3 separate regions of the Homo sapiens genome follow, and all the other regions are linked to region 3. The links are contacts of gene promoters, found by promoter capture Hi-C in human tissues and cell types (Jung and others, 2019). All regions are on one chromosome and are shown on one strand. The core of a region is centred on a gene start or on the middle of the fragment in contact, and the rest is flanking DNA. Distances in the headings are between cores, read along the strand shown. Region 1 has its middle 87 kb from the start of ABCC12. Region 2 has its middle 76 kb from the start of N4BP1. Region 3 holds the start of DNAJA2 (DnaJ heat shock protein family (Hsp40) member A2).

Region 1 (2,883 bases), core at 337-2,836, 1.1 Mb after region 3:
ATTACCCAGTCTCAGGTATGTCTTTATCAGCATCATGAAAACAGACTGATAACACTGTGTAAATACCCCGGCTCTCCCACACCACCCTTTGGGTGGGATGACACTGAGGCCCTTGTTCTGAGGGCTGCCAAAGTTCCCCTGCAGCATGAAGCTTCTATTCACCATGGGAACTGGCTCCACAAAACATCCTTTATCCCCTGCTTTCCTTCCTGATCTCATTCCCACGCCTTCCAGGAAACAGGAATCTTTGTCTCAGTAAATGCTCATGGGGAACCCAAACTAAGACACAGTCAACTTGTAAATTTCCAAGCAAGGGCTATAGTCCAAGCCCTTTCCAAAACTTATTTGACTGAGAAACTCTTTTCTCACAGTTCACCTGGAGGGACTAGGGTTCTGGAGGACACGCTTAGGGAAGCTCCGTTCTGGCCCTGGGCAGGATGCAGACCTGTCATGGAGTTCCTGAGGGGAGAAGTCAAGGACAGCATGATAGCATGGATGATCAGGGTGTGAAGCAAGAAAGACATTGAGTGGGAATATCCAGCCACCCAGAAACACCTGGAGTTGAGACTCCCCAGGGGCGGAGTCCTCTCAGAGACAGTCTGAGAGGAAGTGGCTGATGTGGGCATTGAATACGTTCATCTGCTGCTACGGATTTGGGGTCTTGTTCTCACACTTCAAGTGCAGTGTGTGGATTAGACTAATTCGGAGTGGATTCATGCTTCACAAAAAAATCATACTGTAGCTGCCTGTGCGAGAATTAACCCACCTGCTCTGCTTCTACCTGTAAGGAAATGGTACCAATTTCCTCAAGCTGCAAGACTGAGAGACAGAGACACCCCAGGATTGGGCAATTATGTTAGGAAATTCAACATTCGAGATGAATGGAAAATGGCTGGGGACTTTTTCTCAACAACTTGGCTCGAACAGGATTGATTCCAGGACTGAGAAGTATTCAAGTGACTCAGTGCCTGCAGTGATATAAAATAGGATCATTTGGTAGCTGGAAAATCTAAGGTGTGCCCTATCATCAAAGCACCGGCATTTAATAAAGTTGATTAAGGATGTTGAAGCAGCAAGGAGGGAAACCAACCATGGAACACCGGGTCAACCCTGCATTAGGAGTCCGGAACATCACAGAGACACAGGGAGATGTCTTCTAAATTTCTGCATGGACCAGGAGACTTTTTCTTGCCTCTAGAAGGACATGGAATGTTCTTTCTGGAACACCCCCCAGCACTGGCTCAGGACATCTCTGTGAGGGTTCTTAGAGGACTCAGGGAATGCTGTCTGCACCTGCACACACAGGTGTGTGGGTTTCCTCTGGGCATTGGCTGCATGTTAGGCATTTGGTATTCTGTCCTATACATGATGGGATAAAGTGTTTAAGAGATAAATGTTCCAAGACCTTCCTGATCTACCCATGAATAAACAACCTGACTGGGACTGCCCTCTACCCCCTGAGAAGGGCACTGCTTGGCAGACCAGCTGCTTATACTCAGAATCTGGAGAAAGGAGGAGGGAGGAAAGTGCAAAAGGCCTGGGGAGTATGGCTTGGAAAATGAAGTTTTTCAAGGTAGTTGGGGGAAAAAATAAGTTCAGAGCCACAGTGGTATGAGAACGAAATAGATGAAAGAGAAAATGGGAGTGTGTTCAGAATGGCTGACATTGGCAGGGCATGGTGACTCATGTCTGTAATCCAAGTGTTTTGGGAGGCCAAGGCAGGAGGATTGCTTGAGGCCAAAAGTTTGAGACCAGCCTGAGCAAGATAGTGAGACCTCACCCGTACAAAATATAAAAAATATTAGCCAGGTGTGGTGGTGTGCATGTAGTTCCAGCTACTGGGGAGGCTGAGGTGGGAGGATTGCTTGAACCAAGGAATTTGAGGCTGCAGTGAGCTATGATCACGACACTGCACTCCAGCCCGGACAACTGAGCAAGACCCTGTCTTTAAAAAATAGAATGGCTGAGGTCTATATGTGTCCTTCTTGGTGTTTGAAAAATATTAGTCCAGGACAGAAGTGCTTGCTTTGAAATTACTCTTGATTGCTGGACTGGACTTTCTTGACCTCAAATACACCGTGGGATTGGGTATTGTGAGTCATGGCTTAAAGTACTACTGAGATGTACGTCCAGACCCTGAGCCTTTTTTTTTTTTTTTTTTGAGACGGAGTCTCGCTGTCGCCCAGGCTGGAGTGCAGTGGCGCAATCTCGGCTCACTGCAGGCTCCGCCCCCTGGGGTTCACGCCATTCTCCTGCCTCAGCCTCCCGAGTAGCTGGGACTACAGGCGCCCGCCACCTCGCCCGGCTAATTTTTTGTATTTTTAGTAGAGACGGGGTTTCACCGTGTTAGCCAGGATGGTCTCGATCTCCTGACCTCGTGATCCACCTGCCTCGGCCTCCCAAAGTGCTGGGATTACAGGCGTGAGCCACCGCGCCCGGCCAGACCCTGAGCCTTTAAACAAATCTACCCACTCACAATAGGCACAGCTAAAGACCAATAAAAATGGGGGGACTGTCTTGAATCTTCTCTCTCCTTTTATCTTTGCTCCTCACTGTCTACTCCAGTCTTCTGTTTACTTCTGACTTTTCAGTAGTTCTCCCATTTTTGGTTACAAAATTTCTCTTTGAATTTGAATAAGGAAATTGACTTTCATAGTATTGATTCTTGCTCTCCTTAAGAAAAATCTTTTCCTCCCTTCTGTCTCTCCCCTATCCTAAGCCTCCAGGGTGAGCACCAGCCCAGCCTGGCTCCAGTTCCTGAACCACCCCAATGCCTGTTAACTGGGCTTGTTCTGCATCTCACTCCCACCTTGCAGGGCCATGAGACAGTGCAGTGTATGTCTGTTTCCCTGGTAGACTGAGCTATGTCTTATTGTTGCATCC
Region 2 (2,835 bases), core at 192-2,691, 1.6 Mb after region 3:
GAAGCAGGAGGATCGCTTGAGGCCAGAGTTAGAGACCAGTGTAGGTAGCTCGATGCCATCTCTAAAGATACATAAATAACTAAAAATAACAAAATACAATGAAAAGGGTCCTGTTCTGTCCTGTACAGGAGGAAGATGAGTGAAGCCGTTTATTTTCCTTTGAGATGGAGTCTCGCTCTGTTGCTCAGGCTGGAGTGCAATGGCACGATCTCGGCTCACTTCAACCTCCGCCTCCCAGGTTCAGGTAATTCTCCTGCCTCAGCCTCCTGAGTAACTGGGATTACAGGCACATGCCACCATGCCCAGCTAATTTTTTTTGTATTTTTAGTAGAGATGGGGTTTCACCATATTGGTCAGTCTGGTCTTGAACTCCTGACCTCAGGTGATCCGCCTGCCTTGGCCTCCCAAAGTGCTGGGATTACAGGCATAAGCCACCATGCCTGGCCAACCTTTTTTTTTTTTTTTTTTCCAAATTTAACTTTTAAGTTCAGGGGTACCTGTACAGGTTTGTTATATAAGGGAACTTGTGTCATGGGGGTTTGTCGTGCATTATTTTTCCTAATCTTCTCCTTCCTCCCATCCTCCACCCTCCAATAGACTCCAGTGTCTGTTGTTCCCCTCTTTGTGTCCATGAGTTTTCTCATTTATTAATAACTCCCACCTATAAATGAGAACATGAGGTATTTGGTATTCTATTCCCATGTTAGTTTGCTAAGGATAATGGCCTCCAGCTACATCTATGTTTCTACAAAATACATGATCTCATTCTTTTCTGTGGCTGCACAGTATTCCAGAGTGAAGCCTTTTAAAAATTCATACAAAGTTGATTGAGGTTGTGGCTTGGTGCGATGGCTCACAGGTGGGCGGGTCACCTGAGGTCAGGAGTTCAAGACCAGACTGGCCAACATGGTGAAACCCTGTCTCTACTAAAAAGTACAAAAATTAGCCGGGCGTGGTGGCAGGCACCTGTAATCCCAGCTACTTGAGAGGCTGACGCAGGAGAATTGCTTGAACCCGGGAGGCAGAGGTTGCAGTGAGCTGAGATTGTGCCACTGCACTCCAGCCTGGATGACACAGCAGAACTTCGCCTCAAAAAATAAATAAATAAATAAAAATAAAAATAAAAAAGTTGACTAAAGGAAAAAGAACTACCCCAACCCTGGTTATGTAGGGCTTGCTGGATGTAAATGGACAATGGTATTCGCTTGCAAACCAGGGTGACCAAGTGTACAGGCAGGGGTCACTGAGACTCCAGGCAGTTAAGGGATCCTCTTGAGTAGAAGTTACATACGTTAAGTCATGATTAGGAATGACTGTGCTCCATTAAAAAAAACAAAACAAAACAAAAAACAAAAAGAAAAACCAACTTGATTTTTTTTCCCCAAAGAGGAACCAGATGCATTTTCCTGCTGCCAGAGAAGGCTGTGAACTGTGCAGTCTTGGGCAGCAGGGCTAACTTTCCCCTGGGTCCTGGCCCTTCAAGGAGGGTGCACATGGAGGCCAGAGGTGCAGACAGACTGTGGGTTCTGCAGAGGAGCTGGCTCATCTCAGTGGTCTTGGGAAGACTGAGCCCCATCATCTGGTACCAGGACCTTTGGGCCATCTCGTGCTACTGACAGGCTGAGCCCTCCAGAACAGACATTGGAAGCAGCTGAACAGTGAGTCCTCCATACATCGAAGGCCCCCATCTCGACCCCGCCATCCCCTTAATACGCCCCAGGAATAGAGCTAGGTTAACTGGTTGCCCTCTTGTTACAAGAGTCAGTGAAGGCTGGAGCCAGAGTTGTCTCCAAGGTGCAGAAACGCAGGCTTGGGTAGGGTTTTCCAGAGGAGAGTGTGCACCCAGCTGGCCTTCCACGCTGGGGAGAGGAGGCAGAATACATCTCTTAGGATATAGCCAGACCCTCTTCCCTGACTTCTCCAGCTCCAAGATACTTACAAGTTCCTCTAAAGCTCCCCCACGGAATCTTCTTTTCCATTTTCTGTTTCCCTGTGCGAGCGCTCTCCCATCCGCAGCACCCCTCCCCAGCCCAGTTAGCTCCCTTCCACCCCATCTATACTTCCAGGCTCTGACTTCCCTGCCCTGTGAGGCTGTCAGCCTCCACAGTGGCCCATCCCAGCAGACATTTAGAATGCAGAAGCTATAAACAGAGGATGGTAGACATCAAGGCATGAATGAATGGCCATCTTCCTTGTGGTCCCTGTGATACCGGGATTCCAAGCCCCAAAGGGGTGGTTTGGGCTGGGGATAGTAATTCTGATAAGCTGGAGTGCTCGAAGGTCTGGGATGGACGCCACCTCCGCAGAGGCCAAATGGTGGACGAGGGCCTCTTCCAGCTATGCCTCGTGCCTTCTTAGAGCCAGAGTTCTCGGAGGGAGGGACCAGGTGACTGGCAGTCCCGCTCCACCGTCCCCACCTCTACGGGTGTGAGATGCTCTGGGTGGTCCTCAAAGCCAGAGTTCCTGGGCTGGGGAGGTGGGGGTTTATTAAAGCTGGGAGTGTCAGACAACTAGAAAAGGCTCACAGGGAAAAGAAACTCATCTTCAGGGGAGGCAGTGGAAAGAACAAATGTGGGAATAAGACCTGGACTCAGTCCTGCCTTACCGAACAGCTGATGGCCATGGGCAACCCAAGCTAGCTGGGCCTCTGTCCACACTGCAACTGTGAAACGAGGGCTCTCCACTGGGTGGCCTCCTCCTTCCCTTCTCAGCGGTGTGGCTGGCCCTGCTGGGCTCTCAGGTCCCTGGTGCCTGTGGGATGGTGACCAGGGTTTGCAGGGAGTGCACAGTGGGGAGGATGAAGGCGCTGCTTTGTGGAAAGAAGCTTGCAAGCTC
Region 3 (3,059 bases), core at 103-2,602:
GTTAAGCTTTGCGGACTGCAAAACATTACTATAAATCAAGCTAAAGTCACAATTCCTGCTCCCGATGGCTCACGCCTTCCTTCTAACTGTAACATCATGAAAAAGTAAAGGTGGTCCTAGTTAGCGTCTTTTGGTGTTTTATTTGCACGTGGTGGTTAACTGGGGTCGTGGTGGCAACTTCGGTGGTAGAGAAGTTGCACACACTCTCAACGAGGTGTTTGGGTCCTAAAGCACTTAAATCTTCATTCACGGAGGCTCGTGAATTATATAATACAGACTAGCATTTCCGGTAAGGTAACAGGAAGTCCACTGTACTCTTCTCACTGCCTAAGGAGCATTCTCATTTTTCTCGGCTTACAAATCTGGATGCTCTTAGCCTGGTGAGGATGCTGTGGGGCTTAAATGCCTCGTGTGCTTTGAAATCCTGAGATGAAAGATATCGCAGCATTGCAAATAGCAATAATAAGGCCTTCTATTTATGTTTACTGTACACTCAGGCGTTTGGCTGGGACCACGGCTTATTCCTAAGCAGGTACAGGACATTAGCATTACCTGCCCAAAGAACAATGCATCCAAACACAGACCCAGCTACCTCCGGGTCAATGGGCGAGGGACGCAGAGAGGGAGGAGCTCCCGCAGCCGGCGGCCGCGGAACCCAGGAAACAACCCCATCCGCCCGAGGCGCTCTGTGGGGGCGGCCTCGACCTCCCCGCCGTTCCTCCCCGCGGAGCACCAGACCCGGGGCCGACGGCCGCGGGGCGGACAGCTTCTCTCTCGGGGCCGGGATGCGCTGAGCACCTCGGTCCAACCTGTTTTTCCGGGGTGGTGACCTCGACGCGAAGGACCGGGCGAGCTGCTGCCTCCCGGGGGATACCAGCCCCCGGCGCTCGTTCAAGGAGGGAGGAAGGAAGGGCTCCCATCGTGTTTGCGCAGGAGTGAGTTTTATTTGCTGCATCTGCGGGCGGGCGGGGCCGGCGGCCCCAAGGTCAGCCGAGGCCGGAGTGCGCGGCTCGCGGCGAGGCCGGTCCCGCCGCCGCCGCCGACTCCCAGCCCGGGCCAGTCACGGCCGGCGCCGGCTCGCGGGCAGCCCAGTAGCGCGGCCTGGCTGAAGAAGACATCCCTGGCCGCGCAGGCCCCGCGCCCCTCACACCCGCCCGGCCCGCTCCCAGATACCTTCTTCAGCTCGTTCTCGCTGGCGCCGGGCGGGACGCCCAGGATGTCGTACAGCTTCGTGTCAGCCACGTTAGCCATGGCGGCCGGCCGGGCAGTGCTCGGGGAGAAGGTGGCGAAGCAGACAGAGCGGAGTCGGGCCCACAAGCGGCGTCGGCGGCGGCACAGGCCGAGGGAGACAGCGAGGGGGAAGCGGGGGCGGGGCTGAACTTTGACCCAGCGCACGGTGCGCCGTGACGTCGCTGTGCAGAGCCCGCCCCCGAGCGCCCGAGGCGCGGCCACTGGGGTCGAAGTATTGAAGAGTGGGCCAGGTTCTCTGTTTTCCTCCAGGTCCAGGCGGCTGGGCAGGGCCAACGTAGGAAATGAAGAACTGTGCACGGCGCACCCCAGGAATTCAGCTTCCTCTCAAAAGCCATGGTTGCGAGGTCGCGTGTTTAACCTCGCACTGGCTGCTGAGGGAATTAACAGGCCTGCGCAGCAGCTTCGTTAGCTTCGAAAGAAAATGGGCCCCGGCTCCCGCAGGAGGCCCGCCTGGCGCGCAGATGTCGTTATTAGAATCCGGGACGTCGGTGGACCCTCTGGGTCTGGCTCCCTCGGGGCTTACGATGAAAAAAACTGGGGGGCGCGTGTGTGTGTATGTTGTGTTTTATATTATGAGAATTCTGAAACATTTAGCAGAAGCAGTATATTACTCCCCATAGTGCAGTTAGCTACCTTTTACCTGTTTCATTGGCTCCACCATACATTTCTAGTGTTTTAAGGGAAACCGTTTCATTCATAAATACCCTAAGTGTATATATTTAATATCTAAGAGACAACTTTTAAAGGCATAACGATGTAATCTCATCTAATGAAATTAACAATTCCTTAATCTAATTCCCAGTCCATATTTAGGTTTTTCAGATGATCTCATGTCCTTTTACAATTGGTTTGTGGCATCCGGGTCCAAACCAAGGTCCACATGTTGCATCTGGACCACGTGTTTAAGCCTCTTACTTGATAGCTTTAAAATTAGCTAACACCAGAGGTTTAGATGGTGTAAGGCAAGTCTGGCCACCAGGTGACTTGATTTACATTCGTTTTAGTTTCGCTCAGAAAGTATGCTGTGCATCTACCAAGTGCTATGATGTACAGAGGCCTGGTCCGGGGAGAGGAGTGTTACAAAAGTGCCTGCCTTCAACCCATTTACGGTTTATGGAGACAGAAAAGTAAGGTTTTCTGATCCCTTGGAACCTGAACTGATAGCAAAGACTTCAGCATAAGCATCTCACTCAGGATAATGTTTCTTCCTTGGCGTTCCCTTTGACCTAGTTGTGGAGGGCCTGAATTCCATGACAAGGACTCTGAAATTTAGCTTGAAAACCCTAAGAGTAATCAGTGATAAGTCATTAATAGTCCTTAAACCCTTTTCCTCAAATCCCATCTGAAATCCTGCTCCCTCTGTGAAGTCTTCCTTTACTGGGCACTGGTGAACACTGCTATCTCATTCGAGTTCCCACCACCCTTCGTTTGTACCTTTTGTGGTAGGATCTCGAACTCTTTTGTTTTTTTTTTTTTTTTTTTTTTTTTACTTGAAACAGCGTCTCGTTATGTCGCTCAGGCTGGAGTGCAGTGGCGCCATCTCAGCTCGCTGCAACCTCCACCTCCCGGCTTCAAGTGATTCTCCCACCTCAGCCTCTCGAGTAGCTGGGATTACAGGCGCCCACCACCATGCCCGGCTAATTTTTGTATTTTTAGTAGAGGTGGAGCTTCACCATGTTGACCAGGCTGGTCTCGAACTCCTGATCTCAAATCATCCACCCACCTTGGCCTCCCAAAGTGCTGGGATTGCAGGCCTGAGCCACTGCCTCTGCCAACCGCCATTGCCGTGTAAATGCTGACGTCATCCT

Evidence for each region. Contacts are between HindIII fragments. The study calls those that stand out against the background at their distance.
Region 1: a fragment that was not itself captured here is called in contact with the fragment with the promoter of DNAJA2 in region 3 in 1 of the 25 tissues and cell types used here (lymphoblastoid cells).
Region 2: a fragment that was not itself captured here is called in contact with the fragment with the promoter of DNAJA2 in region 3 in 1 of the 25 tissues and cell types used here (dorsolateral prefrontal cortex).

Annotation. Positions count from the first base shown.
Region 1 is chr16:48,067,419-48,070,301 of GRCh38, forward strand. No RefSeq gene overlaps it. Among named protein-coding and RNA genes, the nearest start is that of ABCC12, 87 kb to the right of the region's middle. The HindIII fragment of the contact is 7,875 bases long and covers 1-2,883 here.
Region 2 is chr16:48,532,429-48,535,263 of GRCh38, forward strand. No RefSeq gene overlaps it. Among named protein-coding and RNA genes, the nearest start is that of N4BP1, 76 kb to the right of the region's middle. The HindIII fragment of the contact is 4,833 bases long and covers 1-2,835 here.
Region 3 is chr16:46,972,322-46,975,380 of GRCh38, forward strand. DNAJA2 (DnaJ heat shock protein family (Hsp40) member A2) reads right to left here and starts at 1,353. Exons shown (of 9, transcript NM_005880.4): 1 at 1,174-1,353. The coding sequence starts at 1,251. DNAJA2-DT (DNAJA2 divergent transcript) reads left to right here and starts at 1,451. Exons shown (of 2, transcript NR_186372.1): 1 at 1,451-1,804. RefSeq lists silencers at 225-304, 655-724, 755-804, 955-1,034, 1,065-1,114 and enhancers at 1,545-1,614, 1,675-1,764. The HindIII fragment of the contact is 16,518 bases long and covers 1-3,059 here.